Linked DNA regions of Homo sapiens: regions 1, 2, 3, 4, 5 and 7 are each linked to region 6. Evidence: promoter capture Hi-C in 16 types of primary human blood cells and fetal thymus (Javierre and others, 2016). All regions are on one chromosome and are shown on one strand. Each heading gives the region's core, a stretch centred on a gene start or on the middle of the fragment in contact. The rest is flanking DNA. Distances are from core to core; before and after follow the strand shown. Region 1 holds the start of MRPS9-AS1 (MRPS9 antisense RNA 1). Region 2 holds the start of LOC124908045. Region 3 overlaps PANTR1 (POU3F3 adjacent non-coding transcript 1). Region 4 overlaps MRPS9 (mitochondrial ribosomal protein S9). Region 5 overlaps MRPS9 (mitochondrial ribosomal protein S9). Region 6 holds the start of SLC67A2 (solute carrier family 67 member 2). Region 7 overlaps MRPS9-AS2 (MRPS9 antisense RNA 2).

The links. The method cuts DNA at HindIII sites, captures the fragments that hold promoters and counts their contacts. A CHiCAGO score of 5 or more calls a contact.
Region 1: the fragment with the promoter of MRPS9-AS1 here is called in contact with the fragment with the promoter of SLC67A2 in region 6 in 1 of 17 cell types (M2 macrophages); the score reaches 6.5 in M2 macrophages.
Region 2: a fragment that was not itself captured here is called in contact with the fragment with the promoter of SLC67A2 in region 6 in 5 of 17 cell types (total B cells, M0 macrophages, M1 macrophages and 2 more); the score reaches 13.6 in total B cells.
Region 3: a fragment that was not itself captured here is called in contact with the fragment with the promoter of SLC67A2 in region 6 in 2 of 17 cell types (M0 macrophages and M2 macrophages); the score reaches 7.1 in M0 macrophages.
Region 4: a fragment that was not itself captured here is called in contact with the fragment with the promoter of SLC67A2 in region 6 in 1 of 17 cell types (M2 macrophages); the score reaches 8.6 in M2 macrophages.
Region 5: a contact is called between a fragment that was not itself captured here and the fragment with the promoter of SLC67A2 in region 6, in 1 of 17 cell types (M2 macrophages). The highest score is 8.6, in M2 macrophages.
Region 7: a fragment that was not itself captured here is called in contact with the fragment with the promoter of SLC67A2 in region 6 in 1 of 17 cell types (total B cells); the score reaches 5.4 in total B cells.

Annotation. Positions count from the first base shown.
Region 1 is chr2:105,101,506-105,104,274 of GRCh38, reverse strand. MRPS9-AS1 (MRPS9 antisense RNA 1) reads left to right here and starts at 1,331. Exons shown (of 4, transcript NR_110227.1): 1 at 1,331-1,439. LOC105373527 (a long non-coding RNA gene) reads right to left here and starts at 2,518. Exons shown (of 3, transcript XR_923138.3): 1 at 1-2,518. RefSeq lists an enhancer at 1-775. The HindIII fragment of the contact is 13,539 bases long and covers 1-2,769 here.
Region 2 is chr2:104,865,182-104,867,881 of GRCh38, reverse strand. It overlaps LOC124908045, which reads left to right and starts at 681. Exons shown (of 2, transcript XM_047446880.1): 1 at 681-1,454; 2 at 2,267-2,700. It overlaps LINC01159 (long intergenic non-protein coding RNA 1159), which reads left to right. Exons shown (of 2, transcript NR_110373.1): 2 at 1-2,385. It also overlaps a transcript of POU3F3 not described here. RefSeq lists a silencer at 37-331. The HindIII fragment of the contact is 270 bases long and covers 1,117-1,386 here.
Region 3 is chr2:104,815,971-104,818,670 of GRCh38, reverse strand. All of the region lies in intron 1 of PANTR1 (POU3F3 adjacent non-coding transcript 1), which reads left to right. Among named protein-coding and RNA genes, the nearest start is that of PANTR1, 34 kb to the left of the region's middle. The HindIII fragment of the contact is 9,510 bases long and covers 1-2,700 here.
Region 4 is chr2:105,077,683-105,080,382 of GRCh38, reverse strand. MRPS9 (mitochondrial ribosomal protein S9) reads right to left here. Exons shown (of 11, transcript NM_182640.3): 5 at 321-400. Among named protein-coding and RNA genes, the nearest start is that of MRPS9-AS1, 24 kb to the left of the region's middle. The HindIII fragment of the contact is 1,296 bases long and covers 683-1,978 here.
Region 5 is chr2:105,056,304-105,059,064 of GRCh38, reverse strand. The region is part of intron 2 of MRPS9 (mitochondrial ribosomal protein S9); the gene reads right to left. Among named protein-coding and RNA genes, the nearest start is that of MRPS9-AS2, 19 kb to the right of the region's middle. The HindIII fragment of the contact is 3,624 bases long and covers 1-2,761 here.
Region 6 is chr2:102,735,475-102,738,174 of GRCh38, reverse strand. SLC67A2 (solute carrier family 67 member 2) reads left to right here and starts at 1,287. Exons shown (of 6, transcript NM_032718.5): 1 at 1,287-1,529. The coding sequence starts at 1,365. It also overlaps a transcript of TMEM182 not described here. RefSeq lists a silencer at 1,171-1,380. The HindIII fragment of the contact is 937 bases long and covers 941-1,877 here.
Region 7 is chr2:104,978,681-104,981,436 of GRCh38, reverse strand. The region is part of intron 1 of MRPS9-AS2 (MRPS9 antisense RNA 2); the gene reads left to right. Among named protein-coding and RNA genes, the nearest start is that of MRPS9, 58 kb to the left of the region's middle. The HindIII fragment of the contact is 1,673 bases long and covers 509-2,181 here.

The DNA of each region.
Region 1 (2,769 bases), core at 82-2,581, 2.4 Mb before region 6:
TTCTCTCCTTTCACAGACGGTTTTAGCACAGGCTGTGTGCCTGGCTTGCATGCCGTCATAGCCCGCCTGGTATTCTTCCACAGTGGTTCAGAGCACTGGCTCTGGAGCCGGGATTCTAGGTTCCAACCTGGCTTGGGCACTCACTAGCTCTAGGACTTTGGGCAAGTTATTGAACCTCTCTGAGCACTAATTTTCTCAATATCTACCTCATAGGGTTGGCTGAGAGGATCGAATGCGTTACTTGTATTTAGAACAGTATCTGGAACAGAATAGGAGCTACAGAAGCATTAGCTCTCACTGTCGCCTTAAGGCAATAATCTTGTCAAATGCCTATTAAAAAAAAATAGCCACTAGAGAGCTCTTCCCAATGTATGCACACAGTGTGTGTCAAAAATACTTCCCAACAGGTATTTCCCACAAAGGTGTGGGATGTCTGAGAAGCTCAGTGCTCCTGTGGTTAACAAACCTGGTGACAAAGGAGACTGTGTCAAGCCTGAACAAAGGAACAAGAGCTCCGATATACTTTAATCCTCTTCCCTGGAGGCCTCACATCAACACTGTCCACAGTCTAGTTCCTATTACAGCTGGAATGGAGCAGATGGCCGGTGGTTTTACACTTATCTTACTTGATCGTCACACAAGGGCAGATGGGGCTGGTAGGGCAGAAAATGACCCCAATTTGACTCAAAGAAATTGAGACTCAAGGGGTACAGTGGCCTGCGAGGTTACAAGCCAGTATTTCTTCCAGACCTCACGGGGAAAGGCACCTGTAACATTCGCCTCTCCTGGAGGCCGCTTCTTGGTCATCACTGACGTCCCTGACCGCTGTGCCTGGCTTGCTGTCTTCCTATCACCGCTCACCACCCCCTTTGCTGGCTCTTCCCTCCTTCCTACTTTAAACTTGATGGCTGTTTCTCCACTTGAGCCTTGGCCTTCTCCCTGCCCAATCCTCCGTGCTGATCCAGCCCACGTTTCAAATTCCCCTTCCACGCAGCAGCCTCCCAAATCTGTCAGCAGGCTGACCCGTCGCCTGAGTCACAGTCCAATTATTTCAAGCATCTCATATGAGGTGGCCCCGAACACCTGAAACCCGAGCCGACCCCTCTGGTGTCTCCTCCTCCTCCCATCAACTTTTCTTCCTGTCTTCCTGGCTCTTTGCATTCCCAGCAGCCTGTGGATCTCATACCGAATACCCGCCCCCAGCTCTCCTGCAGCCAATCAGCTATCGCACTTGGTCCAGGTGAGAGTGGCAACGTTTCTCACACCTACTTCCTTTCTGTTCCCTGCACTGGGTCCCATCCCCTCCATGTACAATAGCTGCCTGGCAGGTCTCTTCCTTCTAGCAACTCCCTGCTCCTGCAGTCCCTCCGTGACCTTCCTGATGGGGAGATCCTCAAGACTTTTCCCATGAGCTCGGGGTTCCTGAGGCCCAGAAGAAGGTGAGAGTTAAGGCTCCGATTTTGTTGTTATATTATGCACTATGACTCTACTTAATATATATATACATATATTTTAAAGGTTGCTAAAATATAGTTTAAAAACACAGTTCTAATTTCAACCCTCATCTGTTCTCTCAAAGGAGAAAAAAAGGCTGATTCCCCTTTGGCAGTGCAGGAACATCACCATGAATTTCAGACCCTCCACAAATCCACCTCAGCCTCCTTCCCAGCTGGTTTCCGCAGGGACCTCGTCCCTCCCCAGCAATGCCCTGGCCCGCCTGGCTTCACTCCCTGCACATTTCCTGAACTTTCCTTCCTCCTTTCTCGCCATTTTCTCCATCTGTACTCCCACCCTCTCCTTTCATGGCCTCTTTTTTCCCCACCACCTCCTCCTCAGAGTGCTACTGTCCTCAGGGCCCCCTTCCTCAGCTCTCCTCCTGGCACTGTACGAGCAGCACTCCAGGTCTCCCGTTAGACTTGAGGACTTTGTCTCCTCCACGATACCAACAGTAGCTGATGCAGGGCCAGATGGCATATACTTCAGGCAGCTCTGCACTGCCCCAGGACACCAGGTATGGCAAGAGCTCAGCAAGCGGGCGATCCGTGCCGGCAGGGCTGCCCGCCATCCCATCTCAGCACACCCACGCCACGTGGGGTAACCACTTGTCACTTCTCTCTTGTCAAAATGGTAAAAAGTATACTCCAACAGATACAGGCTAAATCAACACCACCGACCAAAACCTGCCACAGACAATTTCACTAGAGAATGACCGCCACACAGAAAAAACCCCAGAAAGTATTTTCTACAGTTTCATCTGAAATGAAAAGGGCACTGGGTACCGCAGGGTACTGGGTACTCACTCTCACTTGTTCATCACCATGTTATTTTATTTTACCTCATAAAGGATTTGATGTGTATATACATGTCTCAGAACTTATTCAAGATTATTTTAAAAAGACACTTATGAAGAAATCAGTGGCATACAACTCTTTATATAAAGGATAATTGAGCATTGAGGGTCTAATTCTTGAAGCAATATTTTTACTTAAAATAACTGCATTGAAATGGATTTTTTTTTTTTTTTTTTGAGACAGGATCTGACTGTTACCCAGGCTGGAGTGCAGTGGCACAATCTCGACTTACTGCAGCCTCTGCCTCCTGGGTTCCAGCGATTCTCCCACCTCAGCCTCCCGAGTAGCTGGCACTATTGGCGCATGCCACCACACCCGGCTAATTTTTGTATTTTTTGGTAGAGATGGGGTTTCACCATGTTGGCCAGGCTGGTCTCAAACTCCTGGCCTCAAGTGATCCACCTGCCTCAGCCTCCCA
Region 2 (2,700 bases), core at 2-2,501, 2.1 Mb before region 6:
AAATGCCCAACTAGCCGCTGTGAGTGCCCACAGCGCGTCGTGGGGGCGTCCGTTCTGCAGCTCGGGTGACTCAGACGCCCTGCCAACCCCACCAGCTCCCGGCTTCTCGAACGCTCTTCTGATCGCCCAGCGGGGAGACTTCAGGGCCTGCCTCGTCAGGCCAGATTGCAGCCCGCGACCTTCCCGGATTAACCAAGGGCGGGGCCTGTTGCCCAGCAAGGCTGCTGCCTAACTGAGCCTCCCGGGGAACAGCCATGACCAAAGCCCCGCGGGCCCAGGCGCGGGCACCTACCCCTACCCGCTCAGGCCTGTGGGAGCGCAGGGGCAGAGGCCGAGACGCTGGACTTCCAGCCCCACACCTCTGACAACCCGGGCACGTCTGCGGAGCCCGGGGGAACAGTCAGCGGGCTCTGCGTCCCGGGAGCTGGGGACACGCCTGCAAGGTGTGTGATCCTTTAAAGATCCTTAGTACTAGTTTTGTAGGGAGCCTTTGTTATAGCTTTGTCAGCCTGCGCGCCTTCAGCAGCTCCCCCTCCCGGGCCCCTCGGTTCCCTCCGGGCTCGCCCCCAGCGGAGAGGGCCCGGCGCAGGGGATCTGCCCAGGATCAACTGCCCTCTTCCAGATCCCCTTCTGCGAGATTCTTTTCCTTTGGTTACAATCTCCCCTCCGTGCCTGGGGCAGATAAACACGGTTCGCCCCGCCTGCAGTATTGGGGCGATGCTGTCCTGGAAGAACGGGCTTTCTGAATGTGACCTCGGGATGCTGCAGCGGCGCAATGCTGCTACTGCTGAATGAGTAGCTCTCCTGCCACCGCAGGGCGACTGCGGTGGGCACAGCAGGGCGCACAGAGGAGGGGGTAATCTGCCCACCCAGGCTAAGGATTTGAGGGTTCTGACAAAAAAGAGCTGGTTGAGGATGACACAGTTGTGAACTAACCTGGCTCCTACTACCCCACAGGGCAGCCAGGTCCCAGTAGTCTTGGGTACCACTGCCCCCACCATACCACCATTGTAAAGTATGGACTCCTGCTTAGCCAACGTGCAGCTCTAGGCAGGATCTCTGAAGGATGCTCTGGCACACAGATGGTGCAGGTATGACTTTACCTGCACACAAGCTTACATGTGCCCTGTCATATATGGCTACACGTTTCCCCATTTCCCCACAGTCTTCCTATTTAACTGGTCTTCAATCCTCCTTTCTAGGGCTTTCCGCCTGCACACAGTCATTTGGAGAAAATCAAGTGAGTGCACTTCTCCCCACAGAGGATTCTGTATGTTATGTAACACACTCACACTGGGATTCCTCAAGTTACCATTTTGCCCCAACTCAGCCAGCACTTGGTTTTCTGGCGGGGGTGTCAGGATGATGCAAATGGAGGTGGAAGCTTCATTCCCTGGGGGCTTTTATTCCCCTCCTTGAAGCCCCAGTTCAAGGCCCAGGAACAAAGGGGAAAGGTAACTGATCTCTCTTTTGGTCTTTCTCTCCCCTCACTTCCACCCCTTCACCTGCAGGCCCTCCTCTTTGATAAATAGAGGAAAGCCCGTGGGATCAGGTACATATGTAAATACTGCTGACCTCGGCCGCCCCTCCTCACCGAAAAGCAGAAAGCCCGTTTCAGGTGCAGGCTGCTCCGTGCCTTTGAGTGTCCACCACTTCTATTCCCCCAGACTGCTTGGGACTCAAGGCCACTCACTTAATACCCGTCTCTTGTTAAAAACATTCAGGACAACTATTAAATAGTTATTGGAAGAGTTAAAGACCTTCTTTCAGGAGTGAAACGTTTTTAAAGCTGTGCTTGGCATAAGTCTTTAAGGCGTACAAAGTAGAATCAGTAGACTTGCCTGAGCGATTTTGAAATTTGAAAGATTTCTCCCCATGAAATGGTAATTTAAAATAGTTTGTAGATGTTGTTTTGTTCTGTGATGGCTTTTTCACCATTGTCACCTAAAGATTCTCAAGACCAAGCTACTAAGACATTTCATTTGGTTAGTTTCTGGGTGATACTGTGCTTTCTGATTAGACCTATTTAATTTATTTTTAACTCTGCAGGAGAGTTTTCAACCTTGGAAATGTAAGTGAAACACAGACTCACCCTCCTTCTGAGACCTTGATAGGGGCAGAAAGGAACAAATCTGGCTAGCCCCCCTCACACCTGGAAGTTTCCCTGTCTAAACCTGGGTACAATGAGCGTGGTGGGTTTTGTCACCTTTTATTTTATTGCTGGCTCAAGGAAAATTCTTTGAAATGAACATCTATTCTATTTCAGTGTGCAATGTTCCAGCCGACTTAATGGGCTTGCCTTATGCGGAGAGGCAGTCCTGCAGGACAGAGCTAATGTGTGGTCTCCCAGGAAGCTCATCAGAACACCTCTTGTCCCTTTTCTTTAAAAGAAAAAAAATTTAAAAAGTTTTTGCTTCCATCTCAATGTCCATTCCATTATTTTGTAGCTACAATAAAGAAACATGGGCAGCAGTGATCATTCTTTTTGTCCTATGTAATCATGTCTAGTGTTAGGACCTTACAAAGCTCCAGACATACCTCAGGTGTATTCTGCACTTTTCATATTTATTCACTGCTCACTGGGTCACACAGATGATTCACACTTGATTCCACCTTCCTCTGGACAACTCTCCCTCAAACAACACCCCTCTATCAACTTATAGGGAAAGGAGATTCACTTAGAGAAAACTTCTTGAATTA
Region 3 (2,700 bases), core at 88-2,587, 2.1 Mb before region 6:
AAAGGGAAAGGAGCCTTTTGTCAAGAGATTTGTGACTTTGGGAAGGTCTCTGGAAATAGACAAGGTCAGAAGCAATGCAGGGGCTGGCAGCTGGAAATGAGAGCCAATTAGAAAGAGCAGGGAACAAGACAGGCCAGAGGAACTGCAGAAAATAAAAGAGACTGAGTGGGAGTAGGCGACATCTCAGATGTCCCAAAACCACCAACGGAGAAAAGAAAAAAACAGCAGTGCCACTTCTCTGAAGACTCACCAGTAGGCCAGTGTAACCAAGGCAGCAGGCGTGTTCAAGAACAAACAGGGAAACAGTGCCACTGAAGACAGGTGTGATCCCATGGCCACAGGACGTCCGCGCTTTCCAATGAGTCCCTGGAGGAACCACACCTGCAAAAGGCATGCAAAATAGATAATTACATAAAGACAAAATACGGCACTAAAATTCCCCCAGCATGTATATGATCCCACTTATGTAAAATGATATATAAGGTATGTGTAGTATATATAATATATATGCTATATATTAGAGATATATTTTATTTTACTTTTTAATTTTTTTTGAGGTGGAGTCTCGCTCTGTCACCCAGGCTGGAGTGCAAGGGCATGATCTCAACTCACTGCAACCTCTGCCTCCCAGATTCAAGCGATTTTCCTTCTCAGCCTCCGGAGTAGCTGGGATTACAGGCACGTGCACCACCACGCCCGGCTAATTTTTATATTTTTAGTAGAGACAGGGTTTCACCATGTTGGCCAGGATGGTCTCAAACTCCTGACTTCAGGTGATCCGCCCGCCTTGGCCTCCCAAAGTGCTGGGATTGCAGGCATGAGCCACCGTGCCTGGCTTATTCTTTATATATTATACATGGATATAGGCATATGCATGCATGCCCTTGGTGTTCTTGAGATAGTGGTAATGAAGTGGGATAGGAAGAAATAATTATATTTGCTTTTATTCACCTTTTTAAGTATTGTTTTGCTTGTTACAGTAAGTACATATTCTCTAGTTTGAAAATAAAGAAAAATTAAACGAATATAAACTATGCTGTGAGTGTTGCTTGCCATCATCCACTCTGCAGCACACAGGGTGGGGAATTCATGAGGTAATGGGAGCTAAATTTCTGGGCCGTCACTGGAGCTCAGGCTAACTCTGGCAGGGGAGTCCTAGGGGGACCACCTGACAGTCACCTCTCATGGCACCAGGCTTATCACCATCTTACATTTAGATAAGGGGACACTTAGGTGACAAGGGGAAGCCGTACCTCCTTGACAGGAAGGACCCTGACCAACGGGTGGGACATTTCTGTGGGCTGGGAGCAAACACAGGTCTTCCTGCCAGATCAGGTGAGGGTGGCCACCTCGCAGGGAGGAGGCACAGATTAATTGCAGGGGAAATAATTTGAGCTTGGGACCAGGCGCAGTGGCTCACGCCTGTAATCCCAGCACTTTGGGAGGCTGAGGCCGATGGATCACCTGAGGTCAGGAGTTTGAGACCAGCCTGGCCAACATGGCGAAACCCTACCTCTACTAAAAATACAAAAATCAGCTGAGCTTGGCGGTTTGTGCCTGTAATCCCAGCTCCTTTGGAGGCTGAGGCAGGAGAATCATTTGAACCCAGGAGGCAGAGGTTGCAATGAGCCAAGATCGCGCCACTGCACTCCAGTCTGGGTGACAGAGTGAGACTCTGTCTTAAAAAAAAAAAAAAAAAAGAATTTGAGCTTGGTAGAGGAGAGAAAAACTTTTCTTCTCCTTCAGTTCAAGGGCTGCCATTGCAGCAGGTGAAACAAAGCCCTGACTGCGTGGGGTTTTGTGTTGCTTTATATTAGGTGAGCTGCTTTGAGGCAAAACCCTGTTTCCTGTGTCCTTCATGGGCCAGGCACTGTGCCGGGGCTTGAAGTGCAGAAACAAGGCTGAGGTGACCTCTGCTCTTCTGAAGGTCACAGTCAAGCTGGGGAGACAGATGGTACAGGAGATCCCAGACCAACAGAGTATCGCCACGCGTGGCAATGATGGCTCCGCAGGAAACCCACTAGGCATGAGGGTGAAGATCAGGGCTAGGACCGCTTTGGACCGGAGGTGCTCTCTGACAGGTCTTTCTGAGCACAGGACATTTCAGGCAAGTCGAGGATGAAGCAGAGAGGCTGACAGTGAATAGCGGGATGCGTGTCCTGTTCATCTGCAGAGCCATGAGCTGGGCTGCTGGGTTAGGGTGCGGTGTGAGAGGATGGCTTCCTGTTCAGGAGTTGGACTTTCTCCCAAGTGCAAAGGCTAAGTAGTGTGCTCAGAAATCCAGTGATGGAGTGCCTCTGCCTCCACTCAGCGCCTAATACAAATGTGCTGAATGAGCAAAAAACAAATACAGTAGATGGATGTTGCATGCTCAGAAACATTCCATTTTATTTTATTTTTAAACTTTGGTTTCAATTTCTATTATATAAAAAGTCACTTCCATTTAGATTTGTTTTCACTGCAAGACCAAGCTACAGTGGGGAGAATGGGGTCTGGTGTTTAGCCACGTGCCTGCAGCTAGAGGGAAGCAGCTTGAGATGCCCTCCCACTGCCTGGACCTCATGAAGTGCTTTCACGAACCAATCCGTCCCCTTTGTCATCACCAGACACACTAGACTGAGCAGGTATTCATATTGTCTCCACTTTGAAAATAAGGATGCGGAGCCTGGGAGAATGGAAAAGACTTGGCAAGGTCTCTGG
Region 4 (2,700 bases), core at 81-2,580, 2.3 Mb before region 6:
CACTTGGCCTCCTCCTTCTTTACCCTGGAAGCACATGTACACACTATAATTGAGTTGAACATCTATCTTGGAACATGATTTCAATTTCTAAGTAAAAGCATTTTAAAGACAAACCATTCTGATATAAACTCTATAAAGTTCACCTTTAGCAAAAATGAATTACTATAAATCATTTCATCAACACACTGTCCTACCTCTAGAAGTCTTATTTTTGTCAATTATAAAATACTAGGTAAATTCTGAAGCTGCGAACAGTATCCAGTATAATTAGTTTTGTAGCTTACAGCTCATATTATTTATCATAAATGCAATATACTTACATGCATTAATGAATAGTATGACTGTTTGCCAGTATAGAAGAGATAGTGAAATGGACGGCCATCTTCTCCCCACTGGATTGCTGATTTAAAAAAGCCAGATGAAAGCAAATAAAAATATACACAGAGACAGACCAAATAGCTGCATTTAACCACAGTTATGAGACACATTTATAATTGAGTAATAAAAAATACAAAAAAATCACCAACATTTAGAATTTTAATATTTAGTTTAGCATATTTATATGCAAATATTTAGGATATTAAATATTTCATACCATTAACATAAAACAATGTTTACATTTAATTTAAAAATTACTAAATATTTCACTATGAGAATTTCTGTATTGTTTCAAATAAAAGCTTATAAAATAGCCCAAATCATCTTGTTAGAATAAAAAAATTTAGGTTTGGCCATAAACATAACTCCCTCCCATATTTTTAAAAGGGAAAACTGATAAAGTAAAAAAATGCAGTGCATTCAGAGAATCTAAAACAGGTAAACAAATGAAAACTAAAGAATGTATTTTTCTATGCTACATCATTTGTTTCAACCCAGTGGTCATCAACCTCCGAGAGTTTAAAACATCAACAACAGAAAAGCCTCAAAAAGGTGTTGGGTGTAATTCCTTCTGAAATACAGATGGGCATTCATATCTAACTAACCACCACCAAGCAAACTGAGAAGTGGTGTTAGTCTAAGAAACAAGACGAATGCTAACTCTGTGTCCTTTGCGCATACTATCTCTGTTGTATGCTAACTCTGTGTCCTTTGCGCATACTATCTCTGTTGTTTCTCTGAAGCAGATTATACTTCCTGGTCCATTACAGAAGTTGTAAACTATTTTCCCCCAGGCTGTCACTTGCCTTTTACTTTTACTTATGTTACCTTTCATAATCGAGAAGTTTAAAATATGTAAATAGTCAAATCTGTCGCTTTTCCTCTACGGCAGCATGACTTGTTTTTTCATGATTCATCCCATGAAGGAATCCTTTATAGGCATTTTCTCCCTAATTTCCGCCCCCGCATGAAATGTTAATACCACAGATACACTACACATCTGCTGAAGTATACTGTGGCCCACTGGAGGGCCACAAACCATTGTAACAGTTAGGTTTCCCCACCCCCGTGAACCAGTCTTTGCCCCCACTGAGGAAACATGCTTTAAGGCTTTGGGCTCTCTAAAACTATTTTCTTGTATTTCTTCTGGAATTTTTATTTTATTTTCATGTTCAAATATTTAATCTATCTGGAATTTATGTTTGTGAGGCAGAAATCCAAGAACTATTTTGTTCAGTAAAGAGTCATTATCTCTCTACAGTTTTTTGAATAGTACATGCTTTTCTATTGAAATACCACCTGTATTATATGTAGGATGTCTTTCTTCTGAAACAAAGACCACATTTTCATAATAAATGCTAAAAAGAAAGTCTTGCTTGGGTATTTAGCTTGAAAAACCAAATTCTTATTTGCTAATGGCTTATGGTTGATTTCAGCACTTTTCCAAAATCATTGTCATAGACTTCATGAATCAAATCCGGCATATTTTCTAATATTTTTCTTTTCTTATGCAATTGATTTTCACTGTATGGTTAGTCCGTCAGAAAGTGATAAAAAATGACAAACATCATGGCTGCAGACAAGACTCTACTGGTAAGCTTGGAGAGATGCTTGAGTTGAGTCTCATATCATGGGATTGATTTCATTACATATGTGAATGTATACACACACACACACACACACACACACTTGACTTCACCGAACCTAAGGTATCACAGATTTTAAGATGCCTCATCATGTATTTTATATATCACAAAGAAAGAGAAAAAATACTGTCAAACCATGATATGTATCATAGTTTACAAAAATTGTGAAGTGTTCCCTGCTGTCAGACATTAAAATTTGAAAAAAAAAAAAAAAAAAGTCTTAGAATTAACTGAATAAGGCACAAACACGTGCTGCCAGGACTTTGCTCATTGGTCTGTCTACTCTGCGTCAGTAACCACCATTTTAATTAGCAGAGCTTTTTGCTGGGTTTTGATACCAGGTATGATGAGCTTACTTCATTACTTAAAACAATTTTTTTTCCCACTGCTTCTTGCACAACTAGACTTGACAAGTTTCTCCCAAAAGTTGTGCCAAAACTTTAAGTAAAGTTATATTCAATTTATCAATAATTTAGAAAGCAGCAACTCTGGAATATTGTCTTCCCTTAGAGAACCATGGAATTTTTCCAACTGTTCAGATTTTCACTTCTGATCTTTAACTGAGTTATCATAATTTTCTATATAAATCTCATATATTTTGCAAGTCTTATTTGTGTATTTTAGTTTCTGTTTCTCTTGATACTGCCCTCCCCTATTCAGTTATCTATAATAAAAA
Region 5 (2,761 bases), core at 116-2,615, 2.3 Mb before region 6:
AACAAAAGCAAAAAACCATGCTTTTTCCAAAAGAAAAAATGGAGCATATATTTAGTAAGTACAGAACTCTTTAGAAACTCATTAAACTGCCGGGCGCAGTGGCTCACGCCTGTAATCCCAGCACTTTGGGAGGCCGAGGTGGGTGGATCACAAGGTCAGGGGTTCGAGACCAGCCTGACCAACATGGTGAAACCCTGTCTCTACTAAAAATACAAAAATTAGCTGAGCATGGTGGTGGGCACCTGTAATCCCAGCTACTCAGGAGGCTGAGGCAGGAGAATTGCTTGAACCTGGGAGGCGGAGGTTGCAGTGAGCCAAGATCGTGCCACTGCACGATCTGTTGCCTGGGCAACAGAGAGAGACTCTGTCTCGAAAAAAAAAAAAAAGAAACTCATTAAACTACAGCATGTCATCTATACTTAATGTGAATCCAAAACAAAAAGTGCTGAGAGAAAAGAAAGAAAAAGTAAGAATGCAAATTTTAAAAATTTAATCCAAATAAGAAATGGAGTAAGGTAATCCTCATTAGTAAACATGTTTCTTCCATTTTTAGGTTTTAACTAGAATACTGATATTCAACAGTTCCCTAAAATGAAGGCAAAGTATTTGAGTATGTTCTTAGACTTAAATCAAAGTATGAAAGAATTGCAGACTCAACCCAGAAGCACTGGGTCAGGAATGCAATCTCTATTAATTAGGCATCCCAGCTGGGCAGTGGGTTTGCAGCTGTTAACTTGATCAATGACTTACCTAAATGTCATCTCTACTGATTCGCTTATAAATTACCAGCAAGTGAGACTAATGTACAGGTGCTAATTTATTTAAACTGTTCTCTACAGTTCTACATAGCTCTATAAACTGCATCTGGCACCTAATGTTAGCTGTCAGTTGTACTTAGACATGCCTGTCCTAACGACTCTGTTCATTAGAAGTGAGCACAAATTATGAAATATTGTGAAAAATGATACATCAAATGGAATGGGCACAGCAAATCAATTAGAGAAACTTCATACAGCATATTCACACTTAGGAGAATAAAACATTCTGGTTTCAGAATGAGGTCTATAATACCAATTAAAAAGTAATTGGTAGACTTCAGGAGTGCTATATATCAATTTGCTGGCTTTTTTCCTGAAATTCTATAGTAATGTAGAACTTAACTTTTAATTCCCAAATAAAGACATTAGTAAACGCAAGTGCAAGTCTGTATTCATAATATTCAATATAACAGAAAGGTCTCCCAACTAAACTTTATAACAACTACATGCTTCAATGGAAAAGGAAAATGCAAATATCAGTGGTCCTCAACTTTTTGGTGTTTACAGTATGATTTTGAGTAAAAGAATTTTTGATGGTACACATGACAGGATTAAGAAACTTCACTAAACAGGTTAGCAATCATTGTTACCCCACGTCTGCTCTAGCACAAGGAGATGTTACAAGGTCTATAAAGTTCCATTGGCACTTGCTGCACTCCTCACCTAGCTGTTCTTTAGTCTTGGGGTCAATAAGGAAAACTGTTTCTGCTGCCTCTGTTACACACTCATGGGCTTAGTTCTTCAGTTTCCATACACACCAAATTTTCTTTACACTAAACAACAAGACTCACTCAGCTCAAGGTTCCAACTGACAGATTCCTCCTAACAGTTATGTATACTGTTAACAGCCAAAAAAAAATTTTTACACACTGATCAACATTTGGCAGTAACCTGTGAAAGACTGATGAAACAGGAGTTGAGGATAACAGCATTAAGGTCTATTTGCTAAATATTTAGCCTGCATTTAAAGTACTTTCAGCATAACACCATATACACTACTAATTTTGTTAGAGGCTACCCGTTTTTCCTCCTGTTAGATCTTCTAAAGGTTATCAGTAGCACCATCATGGTTCAGTGGGTAAGAACAATAGGTAGTTTATTTTGTTTCAATATAATTTAAGAAACTGGGCAAAAATCAAACTACTTTGAAATGAAGAGATTCTATACCTGCCAATTACTAATTCCTTTTTAGTTATAATACTTTACTTTTTCACCAATAAGATAATATTTTTCTTGTAAACTTAATAAAAAGGTCGAGCACCAATTTGAGCTAATTCTGGAAAAAAAAATTCTGAAATATATAGAATCCTGTAGCCTTAATAATGATAAATCTTCTAAGTGATAAAACTTTAAAATAAGTACCACTAGTGACAAGCAGAATTATTTTTATTAAAAAATTTTATCCATCTTATTCCTTTTTACCAACTCACATTGTACTCTTTAATAAACCTTATTAAGGAAGCACTAGTATATTACATTAGCTAGGTGTAATTTTCACACATAAATTATATATGCTGTATTCAGCAAGGCCAGATTTCTATTCAAACTTAACCCTCTGAAGTAAAGTTGTAAAACTGGAAATCAATGAAAAAGACCTATAAAGAACTGCAATAGCTGACATAAATTCATGAATTTTACTTACTAGGAGGGGCACGTAGGGCCTCATTCAGAGTCCAATGGCTTTTAGTTTTAATTCACACACTTAACGAGTTTAGTTATGCCAGAAGGTTGGAAGACAGGTGAGGGTGGCTAGAGGCAGACACGTAGACATAAGACATCCTGACAGCAAGGGAGATGACAAGAATCAGTAATACAGCATAGCTGAGCCATTCACCACAGGGACAGTTGTGCTCTACAAGCCACAGTCAGGGGCTAACAAACATACTAAAAAGGAAAATACTAAAGCACTGTAAGGTTAAATTATACTCACTATATCCTACTAA
Region 6 (2,700 bases), core at 38-2,537:
AGCCCTTTCAAGGCGCCTTTCCCAGATGAGTTACTCACAAAATTTCAAGCACAAAAAGACTAGTTTCCTCAGCTATAGGAGAGCAAACTAGTTCTCCTGCAAAGGAGTCTCAGAATAACTTGGGGGTTCACGATTGACAGTTTCACCTGGATTCAATTATATGTCTTAATTCTAAGTATCAGTATTCCACTTCTCCCTATTCAGTGCCACCTCCCATGAGAAACTTTGCAACACTGAATTTAACAGATCTCAGAATTAGCAACCTACACAAGTAAATTGAGATTTTGAGCAAAATCTCAGTAAAATGTCAGAGTCTTCTTGATCCCACAGTGAAAGAGGAATAAATAACAAGTTCTAAAGAAAAGAGGGGCTAGTCACTATTGTTAACATTTATTACTTACCATGTGTCATGGGCTTTGCTAAGTAATTTAAAGGCATCTTTTGGTGTCATGCACTCACTTAATTCCTTTCACTGCACTCAGAATAAACCCCAAATCTCTGTTATGGCCTTCTGGGTCCTAAATGGTCTGCACTCCTGCTGACCTCTCAGTTTGATGAGGAAGTTTCAGCCACACATATCTTCTTTCCACTCTTCTCAGCTTACATGTCACCTCCTCCAAACTGCTTTTCTAAAGTAGCTCACTCCCCACCTCATTACTTTCCACATCAAGACCGTGCTTCTTTATATTATCACCATATTATTTTACTTATTTTATGCTTTTTCATTGCATGTTTAGTATTTTTATTTATGTTTATTTACTGCGTGCTTATTATTTTTACTCCATGAGACTGTAATCTCAACTCAGGCATAGACCATCTATGGTTTGTTCACATTGCACTGCACCAGAAAGGATCTTAAGAAGCATGTGTAGAATTCTCACACCTCTAGAAGTTGGACTACATTATTTCCTACTGCTTTTTAAATAGGCAAACGAAAGCTTGGAGAGCCACGTTAACGTATCCTAGGTCTGTCACAACCAACTGGTGGCCAGGGTCTGTGGATCTTCAAGCTGGAGTTGGTCACCTCCTAGCACAACTCCATAGGAGGAAGTGAAGCTCAATACAATTCCCTCCTGTCCTCCAACGATAGGGGCAGCAGGGTCTGTACCCAGAGGAAACAAAGAGCATCATCATTATCATCACAAACTGGTGTGTGCTTACCGTATTGATGATGTGCCCAGTCCCCACCTTGCCTGAGACCAGAACTCCCAGCCAGCACCGGCCACGCACCCGCGGAGCTGCCAGGTAGCACCCGCCCCCTCTCTCTGCGCAGGCGCGCGCCTCCTGCTTCCGCTCGGGGCGGGGCTGGGCTCCCGGGGTAGGTCCGCGGCTGCTGCTGCGTCCGACCCCCGGCCGGCGCGGGTATGGAGCTTGGGGGTCACTGGGACATGAACTCGGCCCCGAGGCTGGTCTCGGAGACCGCAGAGCGGAAACAGGAGCAGAAGACAGGAACCGAGGCGGAGGCTGCCGACTCCGGTGCCGTCGGAGCCCGCCGCTTCCTGCTCTGTCTCTACTTGGTGGGCTTCTTGGTGAGTGCGAGCGTGGGGGCTGGGAGCAAGTGCTGACTGTGTTCGGGCCTGGGGACCCAGGCGGTTCTTGGAGCTTCCGGGGAGCTCCCAGGGAGTGGGAACCCGCAGTCCGCCTGGTGAGTGCCTCACTACCTATCAAGCTCTCCTCTTGCCCTATCACCCACTTCAGTCTGCATCTGGCCACACTGCTTTATTGCCCCTCGCGCTTTCTCTTGCACCCCGTTCGCGGAACGTCTTCCCTTCCCTGCCTTTTGAGAAGCCCTGGTACCAACCTCAGGTGTGACCAGGTGTTAAATGCTGTGGCAGGTGCAGCTTTTGCAGGGCGGAGAACAGGGGTGTGGGCAAGCTTGGAAAAGCCCAGCTGCTGTGCGGCTGCTGGTGAGGTAGGGACACGCAAGCCTTTTTACCAGAACAGGCAGGGGAGGCCGCTCTTGACCCCGCTTGGACAGATTTAGGCACATTTTCACTAGGATTCTTGGTTGACTTAAATATTAAAAAATGCAGATCAGAGTGAATTTTACCCATCTGCCTTTCGACAAACTGCGCATTGCACAGCGTAGGTTTGGTTTCATCATGATGTGTGTGCCTGTGGTTTGCTTTTTTACCAGACCAGGCTGGAGAAGCCGCTGTTGATGACCCCACTTGTACAGAATTGGGTGCATTTTCACTAGAGCTCTCGGTTGACTTGAATGTTTAAAAATGCAGATCAGAGTGAATTGTACCCATCTACCTTTGGACAAAGGGTGTGCATTGCACAATGGCGGTTTGGTTTCATCGTGTGTGTGTGTGTGTGTGTGTGCGCGCGCGCGTGTCCTGGTTTGCTCCCTGAGTGCTAATTTCCCACGTAGAATGGAAAGTTTAGTAAGCTGATTCATGGCATTTCTGAACACCTGCCATGTGGCAGGTGCTGCGGAGCTTCACTATTGTAATCCACAGTTCTGCCACAGAAGAATTCAGTCTTACAAGTAAGCTGATGTTGGTAGTTTCTGGGCCATTATCTGCAAGAACCCTAGATCCACCTCTGCACTCCTCCCTTTCCAAGGCTAGGCCTGATTCAGCCCTGAGTGTGAGCTAATCCAGTATCTTGAGGGTAAGGAAGCTGCGATAAGTGTCAATGGGAGAAGGCTGCCTTTGAGGCCTTGAAGATAGTATCTGATGGCACTGGGCCCTG
Region 7 (2,756 bases), core at 96-2,595, 2.2 Mb before region 6:
GAACTTAACCAATGAGATGAATTTGCTGAAAATCAGCATTTCAGTGTTTATTGAGTCCATGGGAAGGGAAGCCCCTCCACTTATTCCATCATCCGCTGGAACGCATGCTCCATACAGCAAGGGCAGGGCATGCCTGGTTAGCCAAAATTGTATCTGGCACTTGGATGACTCCCCCTTAAAGTGGCTAAGCTTTTCTCAATTCTGGGACAAAATCCCTGTCCTATGACCACACTACACATAGACCACATATGTGCTGGGAAGTAAAATTTTAATGGCTCTAAAATTGTTCAGGAGGTTGGAAAAGGAAAAGAACGTTAATCAAACAATATTCTCTTTACTTATAGAAACTAGTGTTGGAGGAACCTGGGCCCAAACATAGGTCCTCCCATGGTGTTAAAGGTAGAGACCAGATGAATGAGTCCTTAGTCTGACAGATCACCGCAGTGAATTTCAGAGTGTGGAAAGGCAGGCCTGGTGCTTAGTTTAGGGTCCACTGCGGTGCAAAGCTTATCTGAGGCAGAGGATGAACTAGTGACTTTGGATGTCAGCAGCCAGCAGGTAGTGAGAGAGAAAAGGGCACCCGAGAGGGAAAGTGGCTTGAAAGATGGCAACAAATTGGGCCCAAAGGGTCAAAATTGGCTAACAAAAATGTCAGGGGATGGCAATGGCTTTTGAGGATAGTTATGTCTAATAACATTTTATTGCACCGCTAATTCATTCAGCAGACCTTTATTGAGTATGTATTATTTGTCAGGCCCTGTGTTAGGCACAAGGAATACAACAGCTAGTTACAAAAAGAAAAATCCAATATTCCTACTTTCCTGGGGCTTACTTTCTAGAGGGGAGCAGGATATTAACTAAATAAGCACACTTGGATTTTAAGTTATGATTAGGATCTGAAAAGAAATGAACAATGTGAGGACCTTCTCTAGGCTGGGGAAAAGGGAAGGGGAGAGCAAGGCAGGGATCTTCTGAGGAAGTGACTCTTGAGCCCAGGAGCTCAGGTATCTCCCTGAGCTCTTTGGGAATCCACATTCCCAAATGTGGATTCACCTCTTCACGTGGAATGAAATGGTTCCGACAAGATTAGCAGGACACAATAAACAAAGCATTCCTTGAAATATATTTGTTTGTCCTCACCAAGCAAAGATTTCCAGTGGACTTTTAGTAGGTTTCCTAATATTCCTTCTTGCACTAACACACAGCGTTGTGGTGCCAAGCCTCTGCTCTGCTGGTTCCTCCACTTGGAAGCCCTCTGGTAGACATTTCTATCACATGTCCGGCTCTTTACTGTTTTCCGAGGTCCAGTTAAAACACAATCCCTTAATTCAGACAGCTTTCCTGACTGGTCTCAAGAGAAGCACTCTCTCCTGCTCTGAACCCTGTCCTGTTTTGCTGGTTTTTCACGTACGTCACCTAACATTTCCTGCCTCACATCAGACTCATTTGTGTACACTCAGCTCCTTGCTGCCTGGAATGTAGCCTCCCTGATGGAGAAGCCGTGCTCTCTGGGTATCTCCCGCAAGTTCTGGTGTCATGATTTATACACATCATTGTGGGTGCTCAGAAGTTATTTCTAGAAGGATTTCCTTGGAGTTTAGGTCATGGATGAAGAAAAGACCATAATGGGAGAGGCTCTTAGAGCTTCTAACTTCTATCTCAGACTGGCTCCATGCTCAGACGATTTGGTCTCCGTTCTTCATTGGTAGGGAACATTAGGCCATTAGGCAAAGGAAGGGACCTGCTATGTGTGTTTTTCTTTCTTTCTTTCTTTTCTTTCTTTTCTTTCTTTCTTTCCTTCCTTCCTTCCTTCCTTCCTTCCTTCCTTTCTTTCTTTCTTTCTTTCTTTCTTTCTTTCTTTCTTTCTTTCTTTCTTTCTTTCTTTCTTTCTTTCTTTCTTTCTTTCTTTCTTTTCTTTCTTTTCTTTCTTTTCTTTCTTTCACTCCTGAGCCCAGGGATGAAGAATGAGCAGGAGTTGTATATGCAAGACATGGGGAAGAGAACATTTCAGAGAGAGGCAACAAGAAAGAGCAGCAGGCACCAGCGAGAGCAGAGTGAACAAGGAGGATGGCACCAACTGAACCTATTGGGCTACCCAGAGATGAGATCACAGAGGGCCTTGTAATTTTTGCTAACCAATTTTTTATTTTACTGTAAGTGAAATGGAAACTTCTGAAAGCTTTTCGATAAGGAAAGGGCATGGCCCCATTTGAGTTCCTAAAGACTAACTCTGCCTGCTTTTTGGAGAATAGATTGAAAGGGGATAGGAATAGGATTGGAAAGACCAGCATGATGGTTAATTTTATGTGTCCACTTGACTGGGCTAAGGAATAGCCAGATAGCTGGTAGTATATCATTTGGGGGTGTACCAGTGAGGGTGTTTCCAGAAGAGATTAGCATTTGAATCCACAGACGGAGCAACAAAGATTTGTTCTCACCAATGTGGATGGGCATCATCCAACCCATTCAGAGCCTGAACAAAACAAAAACACATTCCAAATCACTCTTTTTTTGAGGTGAGACATCCAGCTTCTTCTGTCCTCAGAAACAAGAGATCCTGGTTTGGGGGCCTTCAGATTCAGACTGGGGCTTACACCACTGACTCTCCTGCTTCTCAGGACTTGGGCTTAAATTGGAACTGCACCACCAGCTTTCCTGGTTCTCTAATTTGCAAATGGCAGATCGTGGGACTTCTCAACCCCCATAATAGCATGATCCAAACTTTTACAATAAATCTCTCTCTCTCTCTCTCTCTC